Regions from separate parts of the Homo sapiens genome. Here region 1 is linked to region 2. The links are contacts of gene promoters, found by promoter capture Hi-C in blood cells and fetal thymus (Javierre and others, 2016). All regions are on one chromosome and are shown on one strand. The core of a region is centred on a gene start or on the middle of the fragment in contact, and the rest is flanking DNA. Distances in the headings are between cores, read along the strand shown.

Evidence for each region. Contacts are between HindIII fragments. The CHiCAGO score rates a contact against its expected background, and 5 or more counts as called.
Region 1: a fragment that was not itself captured here is called in contact with the fragment with the promoter of ZNF697 in region 2 in 1 of 17 cell types (M1 macrophages); the score reaches 5.1 in M1 macrophages.

What each region holds. Positions count from the first base shown.
Region 1 is chr1:119,867,235-119,872,035 of GRCh38, forward strand. No RefSeq gene overlaps it. Among named protein-coding and RNA genes, the nearest start is that of ADAM30, 27 kb to the right of the region's middle. The HindIII fragment of the contact is 1,503 bases long and covers 1,088-2,590 here.
Region 2 is chr1:119,645,232-119,649,663 of GRCh38, forward strand. It overlaps ZNF697 (zinc finger protein 697), which reads right to left and starts at 3,035. Exons shown (of 3, transcript NM_001080470.2): 1 at 2,460-3,035. LOC124904389 (a long non-coding RNA gene) reads left to right here and starts at 3,085. Exons shown (of 2, transcript XR_007066506.1): 1 at 3,085-3,156; 2 at 3,493-3,745. RefSeq lists silencers at 2,452-2,615, 2,913-2,972 and enhancers at 3,031-3,871, 3,043-3,112. The HindIII fragment of the contact is 7,030 bases long and covers 1-4,432 here.

The DNA.
Region 1 (4,801 bases), core at 589-3,088, 220 kb after region 2:
ACAGACCCCACACTTTTAAGATTTGTTGGGTTTCCTATGTGTGGTCAAAGGAACACTAGCCTAATGAATTTGACACTCTGAATAAATAGATAGTTCAGGGAATGTAATGTTACATAGTTATAACACATTACTTATCACTCTCACTGCAGTAGCCTTTCTGAAAATGAAAATGAAATCCCTGATATTCAACTGAAACACATGGTAGTCAAAACATAAAGGTTGGGTTTGTAGTTTATTCTAATTATTGAGTCCTCAGCTTGAATGAGGGTAAGTAAAGTGCAGATCCCACTGGAATGTCTTCTAGATTTGTGAAGTGGAATGAAGGGTAAAGGGAGAATGCAATTATATAGCTTAGTATAATAAAATATCTTTCCCACCTCACAATTTCTTTTTTATTTTGTCTGATCTCAGGGTTCCAGGCCCAAGTGTAGCACCAATGCCTAACCGTGGGCAGAGAAGAATCCACTTCCCAGGTACCTTCACTATTTGGGGGCCTATAAAGGTGGAGCTCCTCAAAGGTAGGATTGCTGGCATGTCTTAGATGTCTCAGAGGCCTTTGGACAGGAAATGCCCAAGTGTGTAGGTGAGGGGATGGTTGCCTTTTACAGAGTCCAGCAACATAACTTCTGAGAGCACATCCTGTACCAAGAGCTTTGTTTTTTTTTTTTTGTTTGTTTGTTTTTGAGACAGAGTCTCGCTCTGTCACCCAGGCTGGAGTGCAGTGGCGTGATCTCAGCTCACTGCAAGCTCCACCTCCCAGGTTCATGCCATTCTCCTGCCTTAGCCTCCCTGGTAGCTGGAACTACAGGCGCCTGCCACCACGCCCGGCTAATTTTTGGTAGTTTTAGTAGAGACGGGGTTTCACCATGTTAGCAAGGATGGTCTCTATCTCCTGACCTCGTGATCTGCCCACCTTGGCCTCCCAAAGTGCTGGGATTACAGGCGTAGAACTTTGATACCCATCCCAAAGATACCATATCTATACATTTAAATTTGGAATGTGTATTCCTAATAGTATTTCAGGATGGAATTTAACTTCACATCATGTAGCCTTATGGAAGCCAACTTTGTATGCAGCTCAATTCCAAGCTTGGTCAGGCTTCTGCTTGGCCCCATCCCAGGTTAAACAGTACCTGTAAACTGGTTTCACCACTGGGAAAAGGATATGTGTCCAGGATATAATAAAAAGCCTTAGAGACAGATTATTGCACACCATAGGGGTGTTCTTAGGTGTGTAATGATTCCAGATAGGATTGCTATCATGCTATTTCTAAGAATAATACTCTGAACTAACTCTCTGAGATCTGGCACTGACTAATGGCCAACGCTGGAAGGAATCATTGTTCCTTTTCTTAGACAAGGAAAATTGAACTCCTGCTGATTTGGCTAAAATCTCCACAAAATGATTTGGAGAAAAGACACAAAGAACTGTTTCTTTCAGCTGCTATGATCTCCCTTTACTGAAGGATAGCCTGGGAAAAGAAAAAAGGTAGCCCAGTCAATTTTCATTGTAAACAGATAGTGACAGGCTGCCTGGTAAATACACCAATGGTCCTTACTATTGGAAACCTTCTTATATGTGGAATGCTTTTAGTAAGATGTGTCTGATCTACATAGGTAATCATGGTAGTGAGACCTGGAATCTGTAGATTTGCATGCCATTGTTACTTGGAAATTGTCACATAGTCTATGCAACTATCAGCTTTATCAAATGGAAATGACCAAAAATGGCTCCATATTTAAGTAAGTTACAATCTCGCACATCACTTACAGAGCTCTTATATTACATCTGGGCTACATTATTTCCTAATATGGAAGGGAGGCTCTTTGGGGAATGATGGTGGTGCTCTCATACTTGTGATTTGTGTGTGTCTCACAATTAGCTTTCTTCTTGAGTATGATAATATCAATTAATAAAATTTGAAACTAGGTATGGTTTATGATTCTCATAAGGTTTATTTGCAACCCGATCTTTTGTGTTTTCTCCATTTCATGTGGATATTCTCTTATGCAATTCCCTGACCTTTCTTAAAATAGAGGTCATGTCCTTTGCAGGAACATGGATGGAGCTGGAGGTCATTATCTACACCAACTCAGGAACAGTAAACCAATACTGCAGGTTGTCACTTATAAGTGGGAGCAAAATAATGTGAGCACACAGACACAAAGAGGGGAACAACAGACACTGGAGCTTACCTGAGGGCGGAGGTTGGGAGGAGGGAGAGGAGCAGAAAAAATAACTATTGGGTACTAGGTTTAGTACCTGGGTAATGAAATAATCTATGGAATATGAGTTTATATAACAAACATGCACATATACTCCTTAACCTAAAATAAAAGTTTAAAAACATAGTGACTGTTGGCCAAAGTCAAACCAGAATAATCAGTGTGTAGGGTCATGGTTAGCTTATGGATCAAATACTCCGTGGCCTTTAGGTCCCTATTAAACTAAATATGTTACCGAAGTTCCTTCCCAAACCATATATTCTTTTGTATGTGCCCATTTCCAACTCCAGAAGCATGATGCCAGTTTTCACTGCTACTTTATGGTCTCTGTTTTGAACTCCAGTAATCTTAACTTACAAATTGAAGCTTTCTGTTTTATTACATGGACTGAGAGGTCAAGATAAGTACAGCTTATTGAAGGGCGTAAAGAGACTCTTGTTTCTCTGAAGAACAATGGAGTTGAGCAGCACTCTTTGTTCTTAATGAATTATCTTTTATATTTATCTGGAAAGTGGGTGATTTTTATACTTATTATTAAAAGTTTTATACAGAGTTATTTATACTGCCTCTATTTATCCCATTGAGAAGTGAGTTCATATTGTACCAGTAACTCAAAGATAATTCATCACTCTGAAAACTTACTTTTACCCACTGAGCAATTACAGGCTAGGACTCCAATGGATCTTAATAAGCTTGGTACATAATTGCTCAATATATGGTATGTGATAAGCTTAATTTTATTAGCACTCCTCATAAATCAGCATAATGTGATTTTCAGAGGGAAGCCAAATGGCTTGGAGCTCTGGCATACTGAACCTTGTTGTTTGTGGTCAACAGCTCTATGGTGATGTGGGGTCTTACGAGGCTTCCTGACAGATGAGAGGTATCTCAAGGGACTCTACTTCAACAGGGAGGTAATCACAGCTTCCTCATTCCCAGCATAATTTAAAACACCTTTGTTTTCAATCATTTTATTCACTATTCTTTTTCTTCTCACACACTCTTGGGATCCTGCACCTTCCCCTCATGGCTGTATCTCTCTTTTTCTCCCACCCACGACAGTCTCCAGGCCCATGGGACTGAGGAAGTAGTTGTCTGGTGGTGGCGCTGAGTTTTTCACTTAGGAGCTGCCCTAGTGCTGCCATGTCCCACTGAGACCTTTTTCGTGACTTGACCTCCTTAAACCATTATTTCACTTCAGCTCATCCATGTAGGTTGGAAGAAAATTGGGCCATTTATAAAATGCATAATGGAATTCTTCCTCATCTCTCCTAACACGGGCAGCAACTGTGACCTCCAAGAAAACTCTTGCCCTGAGCTCCGAAATCCTCCAGCATGAAAAGGAGAAAAGATAAACTGAGGCTGAACTCCAAGAGCTGAAGGAACTCTACTCTGGGCCTTCCAGGTAAGACCCCTTCCCTGGAGGAGGGAAGTTCCTTGCTAGGGATCACCAAGGACAAAGGACTTGCGCTACACCTGCTGATTCCTTCTATTTTCCTCTGATTTTAAAACAAAGTAAAACACGCGCGGGTGCCTACTATACTTAAAGAATAAGTTGGTCTTCCAGGTTAGCACTGCTTCTAGGGCCAGGAGGACCCCTAGGGCTCTGCTTGCAGTCCCCACGGGGGCCACAAGAGTGCGCCATGGTGCTTTCCCTTGGAACTCTGTAATGAAGCAAGATGCCTGCCGGTTTCAGTTCCTGGGAGATTGTGGCAAATATTAGCCCTGCGTATCCAGAGGTTCCTGACTTTTGGTCACACCATTCCAGGGAGCGGCCTAAGGCCTGCACTGCCCAGGCCTCGGGAGTTGGCTGTGGAGGCTCAGAGCCTCGGGTGAAGCAATCTTATTTGATTTCCTCGAAAACAGATCCTAACCGGAGAAAGACGCATTCATGCTTCTTCTGTTGGTGGAAAATATTCCCTCGTATTTCTCTCAGACTGAGCAAACCTTCCAGTAGTCCGGGGCCTCCTGCTGTGTGCTTTGGGGCAATTCAATTGGGAGAGTGGAGGAGAAGCAGTAACAAGATAGGAGGAGAATGGCAAGACTGGGGAGGTGGAGACAGATGAGAAAAGGGCCAAAGAGACACATGCGGAAGAGTGGTGGGGCACGGGGGGCGGTGGGCGAGCTGACTGTCAAGGTGGTTCTCTTGTCATCCGCAGAAGGGCAGACCCTTTCTCTGGAATGCCCCCGACCCTACTCTGTGCCCACACATCCTACCGTGGTCAAGCATCCCCTAGCTGCCTTTCTTTCTACAAAACAGCTTCTTATCCCTTTTCCTTTCCGCTGATTATGGGGACTCTTTCATTTTCTTTCTTTCTTTTTTTTTTTTTTCAGAGTCAGGGTCTCACTCTGTCTCCCAGGCTGGAATGCAATGATGTGATCATAGCTCACTGCAGCCTCGAACTTCGGGGCTCAAGCAATCTTTCCACCTTAGCCTCCTAAGTAGCTAGGATTATAGGTGTGTGCCGCTATGCAGAGCCCAATTTTTTCTTAACCTCAAAAAGGCTTAGATTAGTGAAACACAGGGCCTGGAATTCCATTCCTTGTGTGTAACCCAGAGGCATTGGTGCTCCCA
Region 2 (4,432 bases), core at 1,785-4,284:
TGAATCATCACAGGTCTATGAGAAAGGCTCCATCCCATTTTCTAAAGAAAAGGCAAGATAATTAAGATTTTTTTTATCCTTTCACTCCTTCTTTGATTTATTCATGTTTTCAAATCAAACATCCTTTGGGCACTTGTTAGATATTAACACCTAAAGCAGGTGTCATTGAAATAATACAAATTACCAAGGGGTAAGATTAATTTTGACTGTAAAGTTTGGGAAGAGTTCTGTAAGGGAGCTAATCAGCTGGGCCAGGATATGTACAAAAATAATTAGGGACAGGTACAGGGATGTCCAGCAAGCATGGGGTTCAACCGGACAGTCACGGAGGTAGAAGAATGTCTGTTGCATCTTCAAGGACTGGGGAGCTATTTGCTCGAAGGATGGGTAGGTAAATTGGGGTGGCACAGGTCCAGTAAAGGAGAGGGGTAGGTAGGCACTGAATTGTGAAGAATTTTAAATCCCAAAGTAAGGAGTTACTTTTGTTGATTATATTAACTCTACATAGTGTGTGGTACTGAGAAACCTGTTAAGGGGCAGGTGAAAGAAAAGAAAAAAGAAGTAGAATCTTAGATACAAAGAAAAGCCCATATGGTACTGACATAGGTTCAAGCTCCAGACCTCTTACTGACACTGTAGCTATTTTTTTCTTTCTACATAAGCAGACAAGCTCCTTCTTGCCTTAGTTTATCATCCTTACAACCAACCTTTACCCTTTCTCCTTCCCTTCACAGGACACTAGTAATTAGGCAAAAAATGTAGATTCTGAGGAAATTCAAAGAGTTTTGGTGGGGGAGGGAGAGGAAATGTGATGCAACTCCATGAGCCTTAGTCATGCTGCTGATGTGAGGTCACTATTTACCACTTCAATCCAGCCGCATCAATCCAGCCGGTTCTTCTGTCTGACTAGCATCCATTTACCCCTCTATCCCAGTAGTTCTGAAAAGCCATCTATGTGTTCCTTTGTGTAATGTAAAGGGCAGCCTGACTTCATATTTATGATCTTGTTCAATAGGATGCCATCTTATTCTCTGTTGGGCATGGCTGAACTTTTGACATCAACTTTCCCTTAACAACAACCCCCACTTCCAACACACACACACACACACACACACACACACACACACACACACGGCCAATATGTTCTAACTAGAAATCATCTAAATTCACAGAGCCTCTTCCCTTCACTTCATTATCCTCATGGCCTCATCCTAAACAACTCGGTTTTTTTTCTCGATTCCATTCTTTATCTCAGTTCAAATGCCTCATCTCTCCCAAAGAAGCTAAGGAAGAAATGTTTTGTTTCACCTCGAAAGCCATTTATATCAGGCTCAGGGCTCTCTCCATGTCCTACAGCATCATTCTTTCGACCATGAGCCTTGCATACTCCTGCCTGGCCATATAAGTGGCATTCTTAAAGGTTCATTTGGTTCCTCAAACGTATTCCACATTAAATAATATCCACATGTTGGCTTGTTGAGAGAAGAAGGTAAACAGTTGGGGGCATCAACAAAAAATCAGGTGAGGGGAGAAAGGAGAGATAGTGAGTGTGGCCCCTTAGGCATGCTGAGTTCAGTTACAACAGTCACACTTGGACTGTATTCAAAGTTGCCCACTCATCCACCACAGCTACTCAAAGACATTTAACTCGCTAGCCATTATCCAACCGCATTTACCAGACGCTCAGTCTTGAGGGAGGAGGGTAACGCAGTAGGGGATGCGGAGTATTGGTGTCATCCTACAGGTTAAGGACAAACATGCCCACTACAAGGACAGGGATACATCACCAACTTCAATTCAGCCCAGGGTTCATGTAGTAAGGGGTGGGTGATTCACTCCTGTGGGGGAGGCAGGGCGGGGGCGGTTGGGGGAGGCGGTTAGGAAAAAGGAAAATCGTGGAAAGTCCCAGAGGAAGTGGTAGTCAGTTCCCGATGCATGGCCATAATGTACATTGGCCATAAGGTACACTCAGCGCCTCTGTGTCGCTGCTCCCCCTCAACCTTTTACTCACCCACTCCTCCCAACACGCGCCTCACCCGTGCCTCCATGCACAATCCTGAGCCTCGGCATCCCCGCGAGGTGCAGGTTCCAGCTTTGCCCACCACCCCACCACCTACCTACATGGACACGTGTGGTTGGAATGCCTCCCGGGGCTAGACGGCCACCCCTCTTGGGCTGCGAGCTGCTGCCCATCTCTCCACCCACCCGTCCTTATTGTGTCATTTGCCCGGTCTGATGGCAGCCCCAAAGCCGCTCATTTGAGTGGGCTAGAATGGAGAAGAGAGGAAAAGGGAGGCACACATTTCATTCACTAGGACCCAAGATGACCTGCCGCCTCTCTCCTGCCCTTCTCGGAGCCCCCCACCCTCCCTTAGCCCCAGTGGGGCTGGAGGCACGAACAGACAAGGCAAGGGGAGCGCAGTCCGTCAAGGTCCACAGCTGCACACAAAGCCCTTCACCTTCTCCTTGCCTTCCAAGCTCCTCCCTGGGCTTGGTTTCTCCGAGGGTCTCTGATGCCCCCTTCGGTGGTCGGCGGGACGGTCCTATTCCCTCTTGCATCGCTGTCTCCTCCCTCAAGTCTCAGCCTCCTCCTCCCCGCCCCTCGCCACATACCCCTGAGGGAGCTCAGTCCTGGCTTTGGGGGCGCGAGAGCACCCCATAAGCCCGGGGCCCTGCGCCCCAGGGGAGCGGACAACGGTCCACTTTACGAGGCACAACTTCGCCCAGCCGTTCCGCCACCGCACTCGAACACACACCCCATCCCCGCAGCGGTCGGGTCTGGTCCCGATCAGCCCCATCCCCGGGAGGCGGTTGAGCCCAGCCACAGCCACGCTCCTACCTGCGAGGCGGCTGGCGCGGCGAGGAGCTAGGGCACCGAGCGCCCCGGCCCGAGCCCCGCACCGCAGCGCGTCTGCCCTTGTGCGGCGGCGGCGGCTGCAGCGGCCGCTGGGTGGCCCGCTGGCTGGCTGGTTGGCTGGCTGGCTGGCTGGCTGGCTGGCTGGCTCGCTGGCTGGCTGCCCGGCTGACTCCTCACTGGGGCTTCCTGTAGGGCTGGACAAAGGACATTTCCTGGGAGGAGCGGGAGAATGTTCCCAGCATGCCTCGATTTGTAGTTCCCGGGGACTTCCTGCCACCGCAGCAGCGGGCGCCCTGGAGGTAGCTCGGGCCAGGCTAGGACTCCGGGACAGGAGGAAAGGCGCTCGCTGCTTCTCTAAGCGCTGTGGGGAAGGGAGCGGCCGGCGGGTCTTGCCCCACGCCCCGCCCCGCGGCGCTCAAGGAGCCCGCTGTCCCGGAGCACGCGAGATCCCAGCGCTGCACTCCGAGCTCGCGGCACCGGTTGCGGGCAGCCGGTGGGACGCTGCCGCTGAGCTGTCCCATGGTTCGGGAGGGCTCTGCGGTGGGAGAGGCCTTTTCTTTAAAAACTGGGAAGTTTGTGGTGGGTTCGCTTTTTAAAAATTAATCTAAAAACACAAAATCTATCTTTTAAAATAGATTTTCTTTTTGTCTTTTACGCCGTTGACATCCTGCTGGGGGCCGATTAAAGAACTTGATTGCTCACCAGGAATTCAGGTTCCTTAAGATCTTGGCGCTTCATCTTTAAAACCATACAGAGCTGATTGTTTCCAGATCCCGACCCGGTGACATTCCTCCCTCATTGTTGACCTTGTCCCAAACATCTTTTCAAGAAAAGCAATTAAATTGAGATTGAAAATAAATTACGTAAATTAAATATTAGACGTGAAAACCTGTGTGCTGCTGAATTAGGAAAGTGCTGGACTTTCTGCGTATCTTTCCTTCATTAACCTTTAGGATTCAGCTTCTTGGTCCCATAAAACAGATGTGCTGGCCACTGTATATTGAGTGTGTGTATTTCGGGAGTGGAAGGGTGAGGAGAAGAGGACATTGGCTACAAGAGAGGAACTCTACTTCCAGCCTAGCAAGAGTCTATGATGCCCTGCACATGTTTTTGTCTATTTCTGGGACCACAGACTCAGGACCCTTAGAAAATCAAGGAAGGACCACATAGAGACTAAATGACTAAAAGCTATATTCTCTCCTGGAGCATGAGCAGAAAGTAATAAACTGAACTAGGAAAGGACAAGTTCTAGGATGCTCTAGAATGTGTTTGAAAAGTAATCAGATAGAAAAGTCTCTGGGAGGCCGGGCGCGGTGGCTCACGCCTGTAATCCCAGCACTTTGGGAGGCCGAGGCGGGCGTACTACGAGGTCAGGAGATGGAGACCATCCTGGCTAATACGGTGAAACCCCGTCTCTACTAAAAAAAAAAACACCAAAAATTAGCCGGGCGTGGTGGCGGGCACCTGTAGTCCCAGCTACTCGGGAGGCTGAGGCAGGAGACTGGAATGAACCTGGGAGGCAGACCTTGCAGTGAGCTGAGATCATGTCAGTGCACTCCAGCCTGGGCAACAAAG